7 separate regions of the Homo sapiens genome follow, and regions 1, 2, 3, 5, 6 and 7 are each linked to region 4. Evidence: promoter capture Hi-C in 16 types of primary human blood cells and fetal thymus (Javierre and others, 2016). All regions are on one chromosome and are shown on one strand. Each heading gives the region's core, a stretch centred on a gene start or on the middle of the fragment in contact. The rest is flanking DNA. Distances are from core to core; before and after follow the strand shown.

The links. The method cuts DNA at HindIII sites, captures the fragments that hold promoters and counts their contacts. A CHiCAGO score of 5 or more calls a contact.
Region 1: a fragment that was not itself captured here is called in contact with the fragment with the promoter of LINC00842 in region 4 in 6 of 17 cell types (fetal thymus, M1 macrophages, erythroblasts and 3 more); the score reaches 10.8 in fetal thymus.
Region 2: a fragment that was not itself captured here is called in contact with the fragment with the promoter of LINC00842 in region 4 in 13 of 17 cell types (M0 macrophages, endothelial precursors, M2 macrophages and 10 more); the score reaches 11.3 in M0 macrophages.
Region 3: a fragment that was not itself captured here is called in contact with the fragment with the promoter of LINC00842 in region 4 in 10 of 17 cell types (fetal thymus, M0 macrophages, M1 macrophages and 7 more); the score reaches 9.4 in fetal thymus.
Region 5: a contact is called between a fragment that was not itself captured here and the fragment with the promoter of LINC00842 in region 4, in 10 of 17 cell types (M2 macrophages, non-activated CD4 T cells, endothelial precursors and 7 more). The highest score is 9.2, in M2 macrophages.
Region 6: a contact is called between the fragment with the promoter of FRMPD2 here and the fragment with the promoter of LINC00842 in region 4, in 5 of 17 cell types (fetal thymus, M0 macrophages, monocytes and 2 more). The highest score is 10.2, in fetal thymus.
Region 7: a fragment that was not itself captured here is called in contact with the fragment with the promoter of LINC00842 in region 4 in 5 of 17 cell types (M0 macrophages, M1 macrophages, M2 macrophages and 2 more); the score reaches 9.1 in M0 macrophages.

Annotation. Positions count from the first base shown.
Region 1 is chr10:48,300,064-48,302,763 of GRCh38, reverse strand. No RefSeq gene overlaps it. Among named protein-coding and RNA genes, the nearest start is that of MAPK8, 5.3 kb to the left of the region's middle. The HindIII fragment of the contact is 7,001 bases long and covers 1-2,700 here.
Region 2 is chr10:48,191,165-48,193,958 of GRCh38, reverse strand. It overlaps FRMPD2 (FERM and PDZ domain containing 2), which reads left to right. Exons shown (of 29, transcript NM_001018071.4): 16 at 1,065-1,275. Among named protein-coding and RNA genes, the nearest start is that of FRMPD2, 82 kb to the left of the region's middle. The HindIII fragment of the contact is 6,884 bases long and covers 1-2,794 here.
Region 3 is chr10:48,230,447-48,233,248 of GRCh38, reverse strand. It overlaps FRMPD2 (FERM and PDZ domain containing 2), which reads left to right. Exons shown (of 29, transcript NM_001018071.4): 10 at 960-1,134. Among named protein-coding and RNA genes, the nearest start is that of FRMPD2, 43 kb to the left of the region's middle. The HindIII fragment of the contact is 2,936 bases long and covers 1-2,753 here.
Region 4 is chr10:46,396,935-46,399,725 of GRCh38, reverse strand. LINC00842 (long intergenic non-protein coding RNA 842) reads right to left here and starts at 1,364. Exons shown (of 4, transcript NR_033957.2): 1 at 933-1,364. RefSeq lists an enhancer at 2,489-2,791. The HindIII fragment of the contact is 4,014 bases long and covers 1-2,605 here.
Region 5 is chr10:48,252,231-48,255,095 of GRCh38, reverse strand. All of the region lies in intron 1 of FRMPD2 (FERM and PDZ domain containing 2), which reads left to right. Among named protein-coding and RNA genes, the nearest start is that of FRMPD2, 21 kb to the left of the region's middle. The HindIII fragment of the contact is 1,977 bases long and covers 407-2,383 here.
Region 6 is chr10:48,273,264-48,275,963 of GRCh38, reverse strand. FRMPD2 (FERM and PDZ domain containing 2) reads left to right here and starts at 1,268. Exons shown (of 29, transcript NM_001018071.4): 1 at 1,268-1,421. The coding sequence starts at 1,397. The HindIII fragment of the contact is 27,288 bases long and covers 1-2,700 here.
Region 7 is chr10:48,208,668-48,211,476 of GRCh38, reverse strand. The region is part of intron 13 of FRMPD2 (FERM and PDZ domain containing 2); the gene reads left to right. Among named protein-coding and RNA genes, the nearest start is that of FRMPD2, 65 kb to the left of the region's middle. The HindIII fragment of the contact is 8,361 bases long and covers 1-2,809 here.

The sequences.
Region 1 (2,700 bases), core at 126-2,625, 1.9 Mb before region 4:
CAAGTTTATAGATTGAGTACACATGCATATTTCCATGGGAAAAAAAAAAGGTCAGCATTTATTCCTCTAAGACGATGGTTTTCAAATTGTGGTTCCCCAGACCAGCATCAGCTGAGAACTTGTCGAAAATGCAAATTCTCATACTCACCTTAGACCGGCTGAGTGAGAAACCTTGAGGAAGAAGCCCAGCAATCTGTGTTTTAATGAGCCCCCCCAAGGCATTTCTGATGCCCATTTGAGTTTGAGAATCCCAGCAGCAGGACACTGACTCACAAGTCACCCTGCTCATTTTAATCACCTGGGTGGGGAGGGGCTTTAAAACTGCCCACACCCGGCTGAACGTGGTGGCTCACAGCTGTAATCCTAGCACTTCGGGAGGCCGAGGCAGGTGGATCACAAGGTCAGGAGTTCAAGACCAGCCTGACAAACATGGTGAAGCCCCATCGCTATTAAAAATACAAAAATTAGCTGGTCGTGGTGGCGCAAGCCTGTAATCTCAGCTACTCAAGAGGCTGAGGCAGGAGAATCACTTGAACCTGGGAGGTGGAGGTTGCAGTGAGCCAAGATCACACCACTGCACTCCAGCCTGGGTGACAGAGCAAGACTCCGTCTCAAGGAAAACAAAACAAAACAAAACACTACCCACACCCAGGCTCCATGTCTGGTGCTCCTTCTCCAGTGGTCTGGGGTGGAGCCCAGGCTTCTGTAGCTATTTTCACATCCCCTCAGGTAATTTTAATTTGTAGCCAAAAATGAAAGCCAGTGCCCTAAGAAATTTGGCGTATTTTCTGTTTTTTTAAAACCTCAGAGCAACTGGACAGAACATCTTGCTCTCCATTAGCTTTTGTGCTTTCATTCTTTATTCTTACTTTCATTATTGGTTCTTTTTTTCCAATGTTTTGCCCACCTCCCACATCTTACACATATGCTAAATTGTCCTCTCTCCATCCACACCCACTGCCTTAGCTTGGGCTGCCATCACAAAATATCATAAACTAGGTGGCTTAAGTGACAGAAATTTATTTTCTCAAAATTCTAAAGGCTGGAAGTCTGAGATAGGAGTTTGCCAGTATGGGCAGGTTCTGGTGAAGTCACCTTTCTCAGCTTGCAGACAGTCACCTTCTTGCTGTGTCCTCACATGGCACAGTGAGAGGGAGAGGGAGGGAGAGAGAGAGAGAGAGAGAGAGAGAGAGAGAGAGAGAGAGAGAGAGAGAGCGAGCTCTCTGGTGTCTCTTCTTATGAGGATGGTAATTCCACCATGTGGGCCCCACCCTCCTGACCTTGTCCAACCCTAATCACCTCCCAAAGGCCCCACCTCCTAATGCCATTACAATGGGAGCTGGGGCTTCAACATATGAAATTAGAGGAGACAGAGACACAATTCAGTCCATAGTACCCAGAAACTGAAGATATTCAGTGTTCATCCCCTGGTGAAAAAAATATAAAGGAAATTGAATAGGAGAGAAAGAATATATTATTGAAGTCATACAACCTGTAAATAAAATATTTGTTGTTTTAAATAAATAAATGTTTTAGAAGAGAGCTTTTTACCAGATCTCTTAGCATCAACACCCTACCCCATCTACAATTATTAGCTAAGAATTTCTTTGAGCCCAGTGAAATTTTGCCTTTCATAGCTCCTGCACTGTAGAACTTGTGCCAAGGTCCCATTGTGGAGAGAAAACAACACTTCATTACCGGCCCCCTCCACCCCATCTCCACCTTTACCTCCTGGCCTTCACCCTCACCCTTCAGATGTAAAACTGGAGCTCATGCTAGACTGGCAGGCATTCCACCAATGACCCTTTGGCAGAGAGACCCCTGTGAATTCCCAACCTTGGCCAACAGTCCTACTCATTCTTGGCTAGATTTGAAAAGACTCTTTGTGGCATCATTGGGGAATGAGAAAGAGATTCTGGCATCACTGGAGAGTTAAGAGTCTCTGCAGGTGGCAGGGTTTTGAGCCCCTCAGAGGGCAAGTGATGTTTCCCTGCCGCAGCCTTGCCAGCGACCTCTGCTGGGGCATTCTCATGTTCCTGACTCAGAGGTGATCCCTGAGGCCCTCTGATGCTCCTGAGAAGGTGCTGTTGCTTCTGGAAAGTGGAGATTAGAAGACAATTTGAAGGAATTTTCAATGGCTTCTTAAACCTGTTCCTGAAGCAGATTCCCAGTCAATGACAGCTTCACTTCTGAGGGTAGGTTGCATTGCTTCTCTTGCCAAAAACCTACAGGATTCACTCTCAGCTGAGGGTTGGCATAGCTGGTCAGCCTGGCCAGCTTGAGGCTTGTCGTGGTCTGGGAAGCTAGCAGAGGTGAGTAGGGTTTTTGGGCTTGGGAAAAGGCAGAGGGAGGTATCATAGCCCTTCAAGGTGTGGGTCTCTTAAAGGAGGGACAGCTACACAGGAAAGTAAGTGAAGCCGGGCATGGTGGCTTACACCTGTAATCCCAGAACTTTGGGAGGCCAAGGTGGGAAAATCATTTGAGCCCAGGAGTTTGAGACCAGCCTGGGCAACAAAGCACAAAGTGAGGCTCCAACTCTACAAAAAAAAAAAAAAAAATTAGCCAGGCCTGGTGGTGAACACTGTAGTCCCAGCTACTCATGAGGCTGAGGTGAGAGGATTGCTTGAGCCCAGGAGGTTGAAATTGCAGGGAGCCGTGATCATGCCACTGCACTCCAGCCTGGGTGGCAGAGCAAGACCT
Region 2 (2,794 bases), core at 117-2,616, 1.8 Mb before region 4:
CCATAGTGCCTCATGCATGCAGAAAATTCTCAAAAAGTTTTTTTTTAAAAGGCTGGCTTTTTCAGTAAGCACAGCCCTGGCAGGGAACCAGACACCATTGTAGAGAAGAGAGGGGGGTCTGTTTGAAGAAATATATGCCCATGGATATCCTTGAAATGGAGGCACTTCACCAGGCTCTAGAAGTGCATGTGCACACACACACACACATACACACACAGAGAAACCAGGAGCCACACCACTACCATGTGTCTGACCGTTCTTTCCTTCTTGGTTTTAGCAAGGCGCAGATGGTCAGAATGTAGTCATCATTTTCCTGTCTTAAAATACTAACTTGGCTTTATGTAAAGCCTCATTAACTTAAAAGCTCTATTTTTCAAATCCCATTTTTTTTATGATCAATGTGAATAGTGAAGTGGGGAGTTAATCACATCCATGGTCTTAAGTTCAAGACTTCATCAAAGTTATTTATTAAACATTTCTGCATGGAAGGAGAAAGGCAAGTGTCAAAGCTGGGGGGAACCCAACACATCTCATATTATATTTCAGGAAATAGGACCTTGTATTAAATATGATTACCAGGGCAAACTACGCTGTGTAGAGATTAAAGGTTATACTCCACAGAGCAGAGCCTAATCTTGGGATCCCAGGAGATTTGGAGGCACATTTGCTACAAGAATGTTTGGGAGGACAGATCTGTAAAAGCAGAAAGCAGAAGGGGATGGGGCAGCTGATTTCGCAGGAGGCTCGGCCGGAGCCCGACACACCCGCAAATACTCTAGGGTTAGCACCCATTTAAACAGGCTCTTTGGCTCTGCGTCCTGTCAGCTGCAAGGGGAGAGAGAGCATCTCGTCTCTTCCTTCTTCTGTTTCTGAGGTTTCTTTCATTAGCAAGTGCTAATTAGGAGACCTTGCATTCCCAGGGATAATCACAGGAGACAAAATAGCAGCAGAAAAAGAAAGGAGGAGGAGAGCGGGGGCCCAGTGATATGTTACAACCACCAGAGCAATGGATCCAGCATCATTCTTGTGTGTGTGTATGTCTATGTTTTTCTCCCCAAATTCAGACCATGATAAGTTTGTGCAAATGGCCAATTTGAGTCCTGCACACCAGGCCCGGTCTAAGCCTCTCATTTGGATTCAGAGATTGTCATGCTCAGAAAACGAGTTGTTTGTATCCAGGCTTCAGGGTGCTGCAGGAGGCCTGCTGAGTACATCAATGGATAACTTCAACGTGGACGGCAGCAAGGAGGCTGGAGCAGAAGGCATCGGGCGCAGGTGGGTGTGACACATTTGTTCTCTGGGCCCAAACCACCATGTGCTTGATGGTTTGCAGTGATCTGTACTGAAGATTTATTTTATTTTTTTTTTGAGACTGAGTTTTGCTCTTGTTGCCCAGGCTGGAGGAGTGCAGTGGCGTGATCTTGGCTCACCGCAACCTCAGCCTTCCAGGTTCAAGCGATTCTCCTGCCTCAGCCTCCTGAGTAGCTGGGATTACAGGCATGCACTGCCACACCCTGCTAATTTTTATATTTTTAGTAGAGACAGGGATTCTCCATGTTGGTCAGGCTGGTCTCAACCTGAGGTCCAGACCTCAGGTGATCCACCCTCCTCGGCCTCCCAAAGTGCTAGGATTACAGGCATGAGCCACCAAGCCTGGCCAAGAAATTGTTTAAACGATGTTAGATGTCTAGGAAAAGTGTATATTTATTGGGTAACTGTCAATCAATTCCACAGAGATTTACAGAAGGCCATCTATGGGCTAAGTCTATGTTAAACACTCTAGGGCCAACCTCTCATTCCTCCTTCTATGATGCTCCCGTCTTTTGGTGAAGAAAGAACTAGATGACAATATGAAATTGGAGAGGACAAATAAACAAGTTGCAATAAGCCTATTTGGCCTTATTATCAGCCAGGTGCTGTTCTGAGCACGTGTACATATCAACTAATTTAAGTCTTATGACTCTGTTAAGTGTTTCCGTTGTTCTCATCACATCACAGAGAGGAAACCCAGGGGTTAGGATTTGAACACAAGCAGCTGGCCTTAGAGTCCAGCTCCTAACCTCTACACCACGCTACCTTTCCTATTGATGAGTTTCTTATCATTTAAATTTATATGTAAAAATAGTGGGCTTATAAATGCAACTTCACATGACAAAACGATTCATAAATTTAAAAATAGCCTAGGACTTGGATTACATTTACACTGCAATTTATAGAAATAGCACAGATTCCCAGGCAGCATATGACCAATGAAGGTTGCTGCAGGAGCTGTTTTTTTGGGATGAGTTTTCCAGCTACTTCAGCAAGAGGGTATGGATGATTCATTTGAACTGAAAGTCTATGTGTGTATCTATATCTATACCTATATCTATATCCATAATTATTGCCCCCAATTCTGTTGATGCAAATGTACATTGCCGTGCACCACAAACTAAATCAACAGTGGTAAGGCAAAACGGTTTCGAGCATCTATTGCTGTGTAACAAACGACCCCAAAGCACAGTGGCTTAAAACAATGACCATTGTGTTATTCCATTTCACAATGAACTGGATTAGAAATTTCACAGTGAACTGGGTTAGAAATTCAGGCAGGACTGAGTTGAGGGATTCTTCTGGGTTTCATGTGGTATTGTCTGGGGTCCAGCAGATGCTGGACTAGTCTAGAGGACGCAAGACGACTTTGTTCACAGGCTGCTTCCTTGGATGGTTGGGAGGCAGTGCTCACGGAGCCCCTCTCTCTCCGTGAGTAGTCTTGACTCCTCTTCATGTGGGGTCTCCAGCAAGGTTCTGCAAG
Region 3 (2,802 bases), core at 36-2,535, 1.8 Mb before region 4:
ATCTGCTCTGGCCCCTGGAGTGCATAGGCTGCCCCTGGGTGCCAGGAGTGTCAGGGTATGACCACAGGCATGGTCTCGATGGCACTAAGGCCACATATGCTAGTGTCTGTCCATGACTGCCTTCTAGAGAGAACTTCCTGGGGGAGGTCCAGGCTGGGCTTTGGGACATGGGGATACTCAGGAAGAGCCACAGACAAGGGCTCCAGAGCCTGACCTGACAGATCCATAAGAGTTTGCCACATGGGGAGGGAGTGGAAGAGCCCTAGGGGCAGTGGGTATCATATGTGCAAAGACACAGACAGAATGGCCCAGGTGGCTGCCTGGTGATGAACTATCCAGGAGGCTGAACCAAGGCAACAGTGGTCTGGGTGGGGCTGTGGTGGGAGATGAAGAGGCAGAAGGCAGACTCTGGAGGCTCTTTGGCTCTGCCGACCCATTTCTAGAGTCTAGGTAATCCCCTTGCTCCAGCTCTGTCTCTTCATTGGATCTGCACCCACCCAAATTCTCTCTGAAGTTTAGAATTAATTAACCTGTGCTCTGCTGGGACCTGGGGAGACAATGTCAGATCGACAGATTGATCCAGGGCCATATGATTCATTGATGAGGGCCCTGGGTGACCCTCTTAGGAAGCAGAGCCCAAGGGAGAGCTGGAATTTCCGCATGGGAAAGACGTCAGTCAGACAGGCCTCCCAGCTTTCCTGGCCCCTGCTGAGCCTGGCAGAAGGCTCAGATTTGAGTCCAGTTCCTGCCTTACAAACTGTGCAAACCCTAGGCAAGACTCTTACCATTTCTGAGCCTTAGTTTCTCATCTGCTGCATAGGAATTGTAAATATACTTATCTTTTAGAGTTGTCAATTAAATGAGACAATGTGTGTAAAGTGCTTAGTACAGTAACCAGCACACACTAAAGGCTCAATGACTTATAATTGTAGTATAATTGATACTGTTGTTGTTTTCAGACCAAAAAAGGGAAATCCTATTTGGCTCTCAGGGACCTCTGTGTGGTCCTGCTGAACGGGCAGCACCTGGAGGTAAAATGTGATGTTGAATCAACAGTGGGAGCTGTCTTCAATGCCGTGACATCCTTTGCCAACCTCGAGGAACTCACCTACTTTGGCTTGGCGTATATGAAAAGTAAGCATCTCTTGGGCAGCTCACAGCTGGCCTGGTGCCTCTGGTAACCCAGGTATCTGGGTACCTGAGCTCTGTTTCTTCTGGGAAAACTGTTTGAGACTTGGGTGCCTCCCTTTGTATGCCTAGACATTAGTCAGCATGACGAGGGCTTCAAGTACTCATGGATAAAGCATCAAGCAAGTGCAGAAGGTTGTCAGGAAATAATGAGTGTAAGATGTGGGTTTCTGTGGCTTGCTGGATCTGGTTGATTGATCTCAGGGCACTGAAGTTAGACAAACAAGCAAATGTTAAAAGCATTTCCATCTAATGATGCAGGACTAATGGGGACTTAGTACCCTGACCCTAGGAGCTAATTAAGACTCCATTCTAAATATCCAAGAAAAAGGGTTTCTATACCCTCTTCCCTCTCTGACGTTCTATTAGAGACTCTTTATTTCTGCTGTCGACCTAAAATGACAGTGGAGAGAGACAGGCTCTCCAAAAAATGAGTGTATTTGGGAATTAGCAGGAGATTGCAATCTAGGATCCACATGCCATAGTGAACTATAGATGCATCTAAGGAGGTTGGGCAAGGGCAAGCCTTTATAGACAAAGAGAGAAGTACATGTGAGTTGTTTTGAAACAAAAAGGTGATTGGTTCCAAGGGCTTATTTCAGGAGTTGACACCAGTTCATTAGTGAAAACAGTGTCAGGCAAGTGTTCTTGTGTGAGTGGCGAGCTGCCCTTGTGTGGCGAGCTGTCCTTGTGCTGCTGGCTGTCCTTGTGTGACTCATGTAGCAAGCTGTGGTTTGGAAAAAAGTTTCTATGGTATTTTTCATTATAGGCATAGAGCATGAGTGACCCTCCCTTATGGCCTCCCAGCTCCATTTTAGTAGGGTTAAATATAAGTGACTTATTTTGGTATTGATAATGTTTACATTTCTCCCTTTTGATCAAGTTATTGCTCTGAAAGCATCACTGCTGGATCATCCTGTGGTTAGGTTTTGATTGTTCCTCGGTACTGGGATGGACCTTTCCTGGTTGTTCTACTCTCACGTTGAAGGGAAATGACCAGCAAGTAGGAGTTGATGTAAAAACATCTTTCAGCTTCATTTAAGCAACATGGAGGTTTGGAAAGAGTGGCTCTGAGGCTAAGTCTGTCTGGAGTTCATTGTTCTGTTTCATAGGTGTTGGTTGTCATTTCGAAGCACTAGACCAGCGTTGGGCATTTTGGTGAACTCTCTATGTAGCCTGCACATCAGGCAGGAGACTTGTTCCTAGAATTTTACATTGAGTTGTTGTTCAGCTTCAGTTTATAGGGCTTTAGGAACAGAGAAGTTCTTGTTCTTTGTTCTTCAGATACTGAAGGAAGCAAGAAGAATTCAGGGTCCAATTCAGTCTACAGGTAGATTAGAAACACACAAAAGCAATGAACAGGGCTACAGTCAGATAACAGGTGTAATACAATTTTCACCTTCCTTTAGAAGCATAATTTCTTTTCTACAGTTACCCCCATTTTTACTAAAGATAATCACAATAAGACAAATTTGTTTACTAAGTAAGTTTAGCCTCATCAAGTTTGGCCTTGATGCATAAGTGCATCAAGAATAGTGGTTGACCACGTAGGCTCCTTTGAAGCTTGTTCTGCTAGAACTTTTGATAAGAATCTCAGCCTGACTTTTAAAAGTC
Region 4 (2,791 bases), core at 115-2,614:
TAGGCATGGCACCCAAGTACGATTCATTAAAGAAAGAATTGATAAATTGGACTTCATCAAAATTAAAAACTTTGCCTCTGCAAAATATTCTGTTAAGATGATGAAAGGACAAGCTATGGAGGGGAGAAAATATTTGCAAACTGCATATCTGACAAAGGACTCACATTTACAATGCATAAAGAGCTCTCAAAACTCAACAGTAAAAAAAAAAATCTGATAAGAAATTGGGCAATAGACATGAAGAGACATTTCATGGCCGAGTCAAATCAGCATGTGGAAATATATTTAACATCATTAGCCTTTGGGGAAATGCAAATTGAGATCATGAGAAATCACTGCACACTTATTTGAGCAGTTGAAATAAAAATATAATGATAAAACCAAATGCTAGCAAGGATGCAGAGAAACCAAATTTCTCATCCCTTGCTTGTGAGAATATAACATGATACACACAGCCACTCCCAAAAATAGATTGACAGTTTCTCAAAAAACATGCACTTACCATATTACTCAACAATCACATTCCTGGGCTTTTATCAGAGAAATTATAATTTAAGTTTGCACAAAAAGCTACACACAAATGCTCATAACTGCTCTATTCGTCATGTTTTTATTGGCAGGTAATTTACATACAAAGAAATTCAAAAATCTTAAATTTCACAATTCAATGTGTTTTGTCAAATGCCTGCACTCCTGTCCCTCCCCCACTGTAAGATTTACAACACTCTAGCACCCCCAAAAAGTTATTTCATGCCCCCTTCAGCTAACCTCTACCATGCCACTCCATCCATAAACCCCAAAGCAACTATTAAAAAAAAAAAAAAAAGGCAAAAACCGCAATTACTTTTGCACCAACCTAATACTAGTCTGATTTTTAAATCACAGATTCATTTTCATATAAATGGAATCATACAATGTTTATTCTTTCATACCTGACTTCTTTCATTCAGGAACACGATTCAGAGCTTCTGCTGTGCAGTAGGGGACATCAATAGTTCATTTTCTTTTTATTGTCTGCTAACATTCCATTGTATGGATTCAACCTAGTCTGTTTATTCATTCTTCTTACTGATGAAGTTTTTTTCTCACGGCTTAAGTCCAAGGTGTGTCTTTTTCGTCCAGCCAGGTGGCCCCGGCAGGTCGCTCCTCAGGGACCCACATGGGTCAGGGCGGTGCAGCAGTGACCCACAGGGGCCAGTGCAGTTGAAGTGGCTTTGAAACCTGATTGGAGAAACAGACTGCTCAGCTGTTAAGAACACACAGCGCTCCAGAAAACTGGTGTTCAACACAACGCGTCACTCCGGCTTCCACTGCTGCTGCGGAGAGTCAGGTTCTCCGGCAAGGCCCCGCGCGCCCGCCCCCGCGCGCCCGCTTCTCTGTCCAGGGAACGCCTTTCTGCGGGCGGAGGCGGCTACGAGGGGGCGCTGCGAAAGCGGATTTCCAGGCACGCCTGGCGCCACTAAGCGGCGCTGAGACGGCGCTGCCTCCTGACTGCCGGTTGGAGGCTACAGGGGCTCTGGGGCAAGGGCCGCTTTTAGGAGTTTGCTGGTCACGAGGGGGGACGCGACCTCGTCCAAGATCTGTCTGCAAGGGACCCTTCCCAGCCGATGTGAACACAGCCCGGGGAAAGGGGTCTTCCGGGGAGCAAAGGCAGCCCGGGAAGAGGAGTAGGGGCTGAAACCAAAGGCAGCCTGGGTACCCAGGTTTTCCCAGGGGACAAGTCCCCCAGTTAGCTGGGCACAGGGAGGCATGGAGAGCGGCAGCAACTGCGTTGGGATGGGGCGGCTGCCCCAGGTTGGGGCGGTGACCCATGTTCCACCAGGCCAGGCGCAGGGCTGAGGTGGCTGACTCCTGTTTCACAAGTGAAGACCTGGTCACCCCAGCAGCAAGGCATTCCGGAGTGGGAGAATTCCTGAGTCCTGGGGAGGAAGCCGTGGTTACAGGGCTGTGGCCCTGAGCAGGAGCTGGCTGGCCCAGCAGGGTGGGCCGAGCACTTCAGTCAAGGCTGAGCGCCAGGCACCAGGGACTCAGGTCTGAGAGACCTGATGTACATCCTGCTCCAGAGCAGATCACAGAGATGCGCCCGCATGAATCCCCAGGCTAAGCCCAGAATTCCGTGGAAGATGCCCATGGGCCAGGAACACGGGTAGTCACCGCGCTAGGGCATCACACAGGGCCCCCCTTGGCCAAATACCACGAGGGAACTTAGACACCTGCATGGGGCCATGGAAGTGCCTGCAACCTCACACTCAGGCCTAGGGCTTACCGAGGTATTGCAGATATTTGTGTTCTCAGAGTAGGAGCTTAGGAATCAGTATCTTCTCTTCGCTACAGGGACAGAGATGCAGTGGCCTAGGACACATCACAAATATTTAAAACGATGTCCTTGGTCAAGGACAGAGGTAGCCAAGGCCAGCCTTCTCCCAGGAAACTAACCCAGGACCCCAAAGCACAGAGCTGTTAGGTGGGAGGGAATTGGTCTGTATGTCTCCCTATAGTGTTGCAACACTTCGGCGCTGGGCTCCCTGTCCCAGACTCACCTTCTATACTCAAGCCAGAGGCCTACGAAAGCCGGGTTAAGATCTTCCCCTGCCTGTCCCTGTAAAGCTTCCCCACTGTCTCTGGAAATCATTTGAGCTTCTTAGCCCCACAGCATGAGCCCGCTCTGACTCAGGCCCTGACAAGCTCTTTCTCTTCTGTCTCTCCCTCCTCTGTTGATATGGACACACCATTCCTTTGGCATGTCTAGTACAGACCAGATCCCCTGCTGTTGTTAGCATTCCTCCCTCTC
Region 5 (2,865 bases), core at 146-2,645, 1.9 Mb before region 4:
CCCCCCCAAAATGCCCATTGACTGGATGCTTTCCCAGAACATCCTCACTGTCAGATCTCTCTACGCAGTGGGATCCCTGCATCCTTTACATAGTTAATGATCCCCTTTTCAGTGCATGATACAGCCCACCAGACCATGAAAAACTTGGAGAGGAGCCCAGAGGCATCTTGGTGTGATGGCTAAAGGCTAATGACTATTTCATAGCCTGAGATTACAGGCCCCATAAAGTGCTTCACAGCATTTCCACAGCCAGCATAATATGGTGGGGAAGAGCTCTGCCTCTGAGACCAAGAGCGTAAACCCAAGTCCAAGCTGTGTGACACTGGCCAAGTCACTTAACCTCTTTGTTCCTCATCTTTAAAATGGGCATGATGATAGCCCTATTTCAGAAGGCTGTCATGAAGCTTAAATGAGTTAGCACATAAAGCACTCTGAACAGTGCCTGGCGTACAGTAAATGCTATGGAAGTGTATTGTCGTTCAAGGAAGTAGCAGTGGGCTTTGAAATAGTGTTCACAATATCACACAGAGATAACAATGTTAATTGTGAGTCCAGGCTGGTTGTTAAGGGCTGGTGGGCTAGTGTAGAGAATTATCTTACTTCATAATCTATCACAAGCCCAGTGTGATGGAACACGGTGAGGGTGGTAAGCAAGGGACAGGGAGGTGGGAAGTGGAGTTGGAGAGGTGGGCAGGGCTCATCTGCCTGCCAGACCTCTCAGGTCAAGAAAAGGAATTTGCATTTTTGCCTAGCAGCGATACAAATCTTGGCCTACCTGCTAGCTTGCAGATTATTCATAACCCACACTGTAGTCCTGAGGCCAGCCAGGGAAATTCAGAGCTCTGGATGGTTCCCAGGCTTCCTGCACTCTTCAGAAACCAACTTGCCACTGCGGACAGATCATAACATTCCACCGTAACACTGTGGTTGGTCAGGCAGGGAGTTGGTGCCGAAAACTGGAATGCACACATTTCCTTCTGTAGAGGGATCGTGCTTGTGCATTGGAACAAGCATGACAACTTTTTTTTTTTTTAATTGAAAGGGTGATGAGTAATTTCCTGTCACTGACTCCTGGATCATGGTTATATTTGATATGGAAGTTGTGATCCTGACACGTCCAATAACAAAAACAGCAACTTCAAGCCTCTAGTGACTCTTAGCTTTAACAAAAAGAAGGGTGCTTGATTGGCAAACCCGATCAGTTATGTGCTTTTCCAGATGTTGGATGCTCCTTTTAAAAAAATTCTGATAGGAGAAAAAAGGGTTCCAATCAAAATACATTTTTATTGTCTTTTACATTTACCTATGTTATTATCTTTATGGGTGCTCCCATTTCTTCATGTGGATTTGAGTTACTGTCTAGTGTCTTTTCATTTCAGTCTGAAGGACTCCATTAGGATTTCTCGGAGGGAAGGGTGTGCTAGCAACAAATTTGCACAATTTTTGTTTATGTGAATAGGTCTTAATTTCTCTTTCAGTTTTGAAGGATTGATTGCTTTGTTGTCTACCAAATTCTTGTTTGACAGTCTCCCCTCCAAGTATTTTGATATTGGGTGGGGTTTTTCTAACTGCTTTGTGCCTAGAAAAAAATGCATTAAGTGTTTGAGGCTGGTGTGGCTAGTTAAGACCATACGTCATCCAACTGCCTTTTGGTCTCCATGGTTTTTGATGAGAAATCAGCTGTTCATTTTATTGGGCAGTCCTTGTTTGTGATGAGTCCTAAATATTTTCTCCCATTTTCCTCCATGAAAGTTTATAGTTTTATGTTCTATATTAAATCTATGATTCATTTTGAAGTAATTTTTGCATAAGGTGCAAGGTTTAGGACCATGTTCAGCTTTTTTCCATGATGGATCCAGAACTATTTGTTGAAAAGTTTGTCCTCCCTCCATTGAATTATTGTACTGAAATAATGGTCTTCACTATCCACACCAGCCTAGAAGACTTTTAATGCATTTTTGTCTAGTCATAAAGCAATTTAAAAAACCCCACCCATTCAATATTTTATTTTGGGATTTAGAGATTTTTTGTATAAGAATCATGGTCTTCTTCTTCCCCCTTCTTATCTTTAATAAGCAACCTTTCACTGTGGCTATAGAGAGTTAGAAAAATGTGGTGGAATAGGAATGCCTAGTCCATAAGTCTCAAACAGTTTCTAAAGAGAGAGGAGAGATAAAAAAACGAAAGAAAAGGAAAGGAAAAGGAAGGAAAGGAAAGAAAAAAGAAAAGAAATAGAAAAGAAAAAGAGAGAGGGCCTGGAGTTCAGCTTCTAATTCATCACTTTTTACTTGATTACCTTGGACTTATTTCCTGTCTGTAAATGGAAACAATACTCCCTTCTTCACAGACTCCTTGTGATAAGTGACGGCTCACAGGTCAAGCTTTCTGAGGGGGTCCTGCTGCGGCTCCCTTTCTGCCCCAGGGAGAGGTAGCAGACCAAGCCTCTTTCTCCTGAAACCAGCCTCTCTTCCTGAGGCTGGAGGAGGCTGGTAGCAGAGGTGTCTGCAGGGAGCTGGGCAGCTGGGGAGTAGATCTTGGATTAGTGTGTCAATGGGGGATGGGGGTGCCTCTATGTGCTCCCCATCTAGCGCCCGACACTGCACACCCGCCCTGCTTGAGCTCTGGCTGTAGAGAAAGATCAGTGAGGATGTAAATGGATTAGGAAAAGCCCGCCTGGCTTCTTCCGGTGCCACTCAGCACCTGGGTCTCTGGAGATTAGTGGGTGGCAGCTTTGTCAGGGAGATAGACATTTAAACATCAGCTTTGGTCTAAAGGCCCTGCTTACCAGAAGAGAGGGAAGAGAAGACTAGCCCTCTTGAGCCTCCTCCAGTTTATCTGTGAGGCTGCCCCTTTCTGAAACATGGG
Region 6 (2,700 bases), core at 19-2,518, 1.9 Mb before region 4:
TACTGTGTGTGAACTACAATAATCACTGTTGATGGGCACTTCAGTGGCTTTCAGTTTTCTGCTACTACCAAAATACACTGCAAAGAGCATCCTTTCTCAGATGCTTTGGTGAACTTTTGCAAGAATGTCCATGGGGTTACTTCTTAGCAGCTGGGTTTACAAAGGATATGTACATTTACAAATTTGATGAATATTACCAAATTCCCTGCAGAGAAGTTGCACTTATCTGTAATCTCACTATTGGCATATGAGAGTACTCATTCTCCATGCCCTCACCAGCACTGAGTTTCATCAGATTTTTTTTTCGAGACAGAGTCTCGCTCTGTCACCCAGGCTGGAGTGCAGTGGCCCGATCTTGGCTCACTGCAAGCTCCGCCTCCCAGGTTCACGCCATTCTTCTGCCTCAGCCTCCGGAGTAGCTGGGACTACAGGCACCCGCCTCCAGGCCCAGCTAATTTTTTGTATTTTTAGTAGAGACGGGGTTTTGCCATGTTAGCCAGGATGGTCTCGATCTCCTGACCTCGTGATCTGCCCGCCTTGGCCTCCCAAAGTGCTGGGATTACAGGCATGAGCCACTGTGCCCGGCCTCAAATTTTAGTATTTTATTCTGTAGTCAGGCAAAAACTCATGTTTTCTTTTTAAATAAATACGTCTCAGTTTTGACACTGCTATTGATTTAAAGGGCTTGAGAGATCTGTTCTTTTGCCCCTTCTACTACAGAGCTATGATCTACTTCTTGCTGTTCCCCATCTCTGCTGGTTCCTTTCTGAATCCAAGCACCAGAAAGAGTAAGAATTCCTTTCCCCCTTTCTCTAACCACATTTTTCTTGCTTTCTCACAGACAGATCCAGGTTATCATTTCCTCCTGCTGCTTTCACATGGTTCCCTGTCCTGTTGGTTGCAGGTCCAATGTCTGACACTATGAAAGGGCATGGAGGACTCTTGAGTTGATGACACTAAGCCTCTGCTCTGGGGCTGCCCCCAGTTCCTTGCAGAGCTCTTTCTTTTGATTGGGCCAGGAGATAAAGAGACATCAGCGTAAAAGCCCTGCTGAGCAGCAATCCCATTGCCTTCAGTGGCACCTAATCCACTTGAGCTCTTCCTGGCTCTCTCACGGGTCACTGGCTTTGAGGACGCAGGCTGCTGGGGTGGCAGTGCCTGCTAACAGGCCAGAGACTGCGCAGGACCCAGGGAATGAGAGTGGTGGCAGGAAAGGGAAGGGGCCTTGTTGACTCACTCGCTGGGCAGCAAGTGCTTAGTGACAAGCAGTAAACAAAGACAGCGGCAACAGTGCTGGTGGCAGGGAGCTCCGCGGACAGACTTGCAAGAGACCCCTGCTCCTTGTTGGAAAGTTGTCCCATGATGAAGGCCTAGACCTGGTCACGGAGACTTTTGGATGCAGCCTTTAACGAAGGACGCAGGTATTCCTTGGCATCATTCAGTTTTCTCCTATAAATCTGGTCAGGGAAAGGGCAAACTTCTTACTGGGTCTAGGTATCCGGAATAAGAAGAACACAGCTGGGCAAGGACCTGTGTCAGTGCCCTTTGTGGTATTATTTGGAGTATTATTTGTTCCAGGCCATTGGCTAAGCCTGATAGACATTGTATTTGTTTTTTAGCAATAAAGAATGGGCTCAGAAGAGAAAACATGGACTTTAGAATCAGACCACCCCTTGTTTGAATCACTGCTTTGCTATTCAGCATCTGTGCAAATTCAAATGACTCTTTTAACTTTCCTAAGACTCGTTTTTCTTACCTGTAAAATGGGGATAATAATGCCCCATGCGTTACGATGTTGCTGAGGATTCATGGGGTGACACGCGTAAGGCACTTAGAACATACTTGGAGCATTTGAGTAGCCCAGTAAATCATGGCTGTCACTATCTTTCAGAAGCAAGTGTTTTGGTTATTGCTTAAAGAGTATCAGTGGTTTAAAGTAAGAAGACTCAGGGTATGCCTAGCTGACTTCCAGAAAACAATGGAAAAGAAATGATTCACCTGGCTTTATTTGTATGCTTAAAGGAAAGAAAAAACTCAGTTGAGGTTTTCAACAGTGTAAACAACTTTTTTTTTTTTTTAAAGCAACAATTGAGTTCAGAGATGAGTCGTGTCTATTTCTCCTGGCTAAATCCTGTGATTTGCTATAGGCTGTAGCTGAAACCAATTAAGTAGTTCATTAATTCAACGAGAACTTACTTGGTATCTCCTGGGGCCACATGCCAAATGCTGGGGATGTCTCCCCCAGCCCAGAGGATCTTCCAGGTTGTAGGACAGTGGGGGTCGGGGGGCAGAATGCTGGACCTGCATGAAAACTGGCGGTGATAGCAAGTGCCGAAATGGAGGTGGCACGGGCTCCTGGGAGAGGTGTTGCTTGAGCATGGCTTTAATGCTAAGCGAACACTAGCAGGAGTTGGGAGCAGGGGGATTGGAAAAGGCATCCCAAGCAGAGAAAAGCACATGCAAAGGCCCAGTGGCATGAATAAGTAAAGCATGCTCTGGGAACAGCAGGCAGTTTGGCCTAACTTTAGTAAAGTGGGAACAGGGGAATCTGATAAGAAAGGAGGCTGCAGAGGTGAACAGGGGAGAGCAAGGAAGGCCTTCTATGGCCCAGAGTTCACTCAGAAGGTCCCAGATAGGCACTGGTAGTTTTAATGAAGGATGTGTCGTGTCTGCATTTAATATTAAGAAGATTAATCTAGT
Region 7 (2,809 bases), core at 275-2,774, 1.8 Mb before region 4:
ACTTTCCTCCAAGCAGGGAGACCACATTTCTTATAGTTGACACATAGGACAACAGAAGTACAAGATCAGCGCTTGAGCCAGAGAAAAGCCATCACAAGACCCTAAGTTTGCAGCCCTGCAGGCAGCAGTCCTCAACATAGCACAGCTGCTGTGGCCTGTGCACAGGAGTGCAGCTTGGGCCCACCGTCTCTTCACCAGCGGGGCAAAAACAGTGGCACTGCAGTCTCCCCGTGTGGGCACACACAATGATGAATAGTCTTTGCTACTCCACAATCTCCCCTTGCTGTGGGCCAGGCACTGGAAAATGGAGACAAAAAGCACATGCTCTTTGTCCCCAGGAAGCCCCATGTCTTGTGGGGAGGACTGCGGTCTACCCACAGGCACACAACTCAATAAACACTCAATGGAACAAGAACAATACCAGCTACTCTATGTCAAGATGTGGGGACCAGGGAGAGAGTGGCTACTCTGCCTGTGCAGATACAGCTGGGGGATAAGTGCGAGGACACTCGCAGCTTCCCCAGGATGGGATACAAGCTGGGCCATTTGATTGGGGGAGCAGTTTTAAAAGGAAGTTAGGAGATTTGTGTATTTCCCTGTACAGAAGTCAGGTAGAAATATTCCATCTGTGTTTTCTTGCCCTTAATTGAGATGGGTACTTGAAAACAGAACAGCCAACATGAGGTTGGGCCTTTGCTTTTCAGCTGGTCATTTTGCAGAACTATCCCTGTATCTAACATGGTGTAGCCTGCAAGCGTTTCATTTGAGAAGCACTGGCGAAGCATGATCAGGGCACTCCATAGTCCGGGCTGCACACGTGTTCCCTGTCAAGGGGACGAAGCATTCCCTTGATGAGGGACCAGTGGGGACTTCAAAGCCATCTGATAATGAGTGGTCACAGAGCCACAGAACTGCAGAACCCAATCTAGAGGCCAAGGACCCAACCCTGCGGCAGATGTCTGCAGGATGGACGCTACCTTCTGGCCTCTGCCCAGACCCTGACTTTGAGTGCTGATCTCACTGTCAGGGTCCCTCGCTTCCTGGTTGAACGATGAAAAATGATTGTAAAAGAAACTACCAGGCTGAGAAGCAAAAATACAGAAAACCATTTTTTTCCCCATTCACAGAAAGCACTGAATAGATTTGATTCCATTTACATGTAATCTTTATCGGTTTCAAGGAGCACTCTTGCTTTTGCAGTTTCCCTTGGTAAACTGGTTGGGGTTGTTAATGCTGGTGTTGCCTGCCTGTGGTACAGAGAGATAAACTAGACAGGGCTTTGTCATCATCCCCAGAGCACATTGGGAGCCTCTCATTAGGATGAGGGTTTGTTAAAGGTTTTCTCCCCCTCCCTGATTATAAAAGTAAACATTTCCTCATAATTCTGCCGCCTGGAGATAGCACAGTTACATTTAGGTATATTCATCCTTCTCTCTTTGTTCTGTGCATTCATATATATATGTATATGCATATATATTTAAAATTAGCTTTATATTATACATGCACTTTTATGTATGTATATAATCCCATAGATCTAAACATTTGAAAACTTCTTTTGAATTAACATATATTGTACTCTAATTTTTTCTCTCAATGCTCTATTGTTTAACATATAAATGGTTTCCAATATGGGACTATTTAAAACAATACTGAGGTTAGCATCTTTTCCATATAAATCTTAGCTGTATTTCTGCTTCATTCCTTAGGGATAGAATCTCATAAGTGGAATTACAGGGTGGAAGGTAATAAACATTTTGAACGTTGTTGATATATATTGCTAAGACACCTCGTGCAGCCGTCATTTCTGGACATTTTCCATCTCTTCTACTGGGCTATAAATGCCTGGAAGGCCGTGGATCCTCAGTGCCCATCACAGAGCCCAGTTACTATTCTACAAGCAATCACTGGATTATTTAATTATAGCTCCTCATGGCTCTTGTTTTTCATTAGAAAAAGGAGAAGACCATTATTGGGAGGCTAGCTCTTGGTCCCCAGTTCACTGATGACTAACTCTGAAAGTTCAGCACCTTGTACTAGCCACAGACTGGGCAAAAGTCCAGTTTGGGAAGCGCTGAATACCATAGTCTGTCTGTAGATTCACAACTATATTAGCTTATTAATCTCAGAATAACCTGTTTAAGGTGAATTCAGTGTTTTCCTAACTTCCTCAACCATGGAGCCATTTTCCCACATAGCTGTGGGTTGTTAATATATTATTAAAAGATTTTTTTCTTGCTATTGAAATCATAATGATTGTATCCTGTAGTTTCTTCCACTTAGCATTATAACAAATGCACTCTCCTGATAATTACAAATGCTTTACAAATATCCTTTGTAAAGGCTGCCTGATAATCAATTTTAAGACAGTACTGTTTTTAGGAAATCGTTTACTGCCAGGAGCTGGTTTCCCCAAATCACCCCACAAATCTGTACTGAACAGCATTATGAGAAGGGGTTGTCCTGATTATTCAGCATATTTTCTTAGGGTAGATACCCACAGGTGGAGTTATAAGGTCAGAGAAGATGAATTCTGAACCCCTTGATGAATATTCAGAAATAACAATCCATTTGTTTTGAAGAATGTTCAATGCAGCAAGGGATGTGTGGCTGGCAGCCAGGAGTGCTTGGTCCCATCTCAACTTTGCTACCTGTTGTAAGGAAGACAGGCCTTGTAGTAAGATGGCCCAAAGCACATGGAGAGGAAATGACCCTCTGAAAGGACACCCAGCAATAGCAATGCAAAGGGGGCCAGGAGAAGCATCCTAGGAGACTCCCTAGCAGACAGCAAATGGAGGTAGACATCATTATT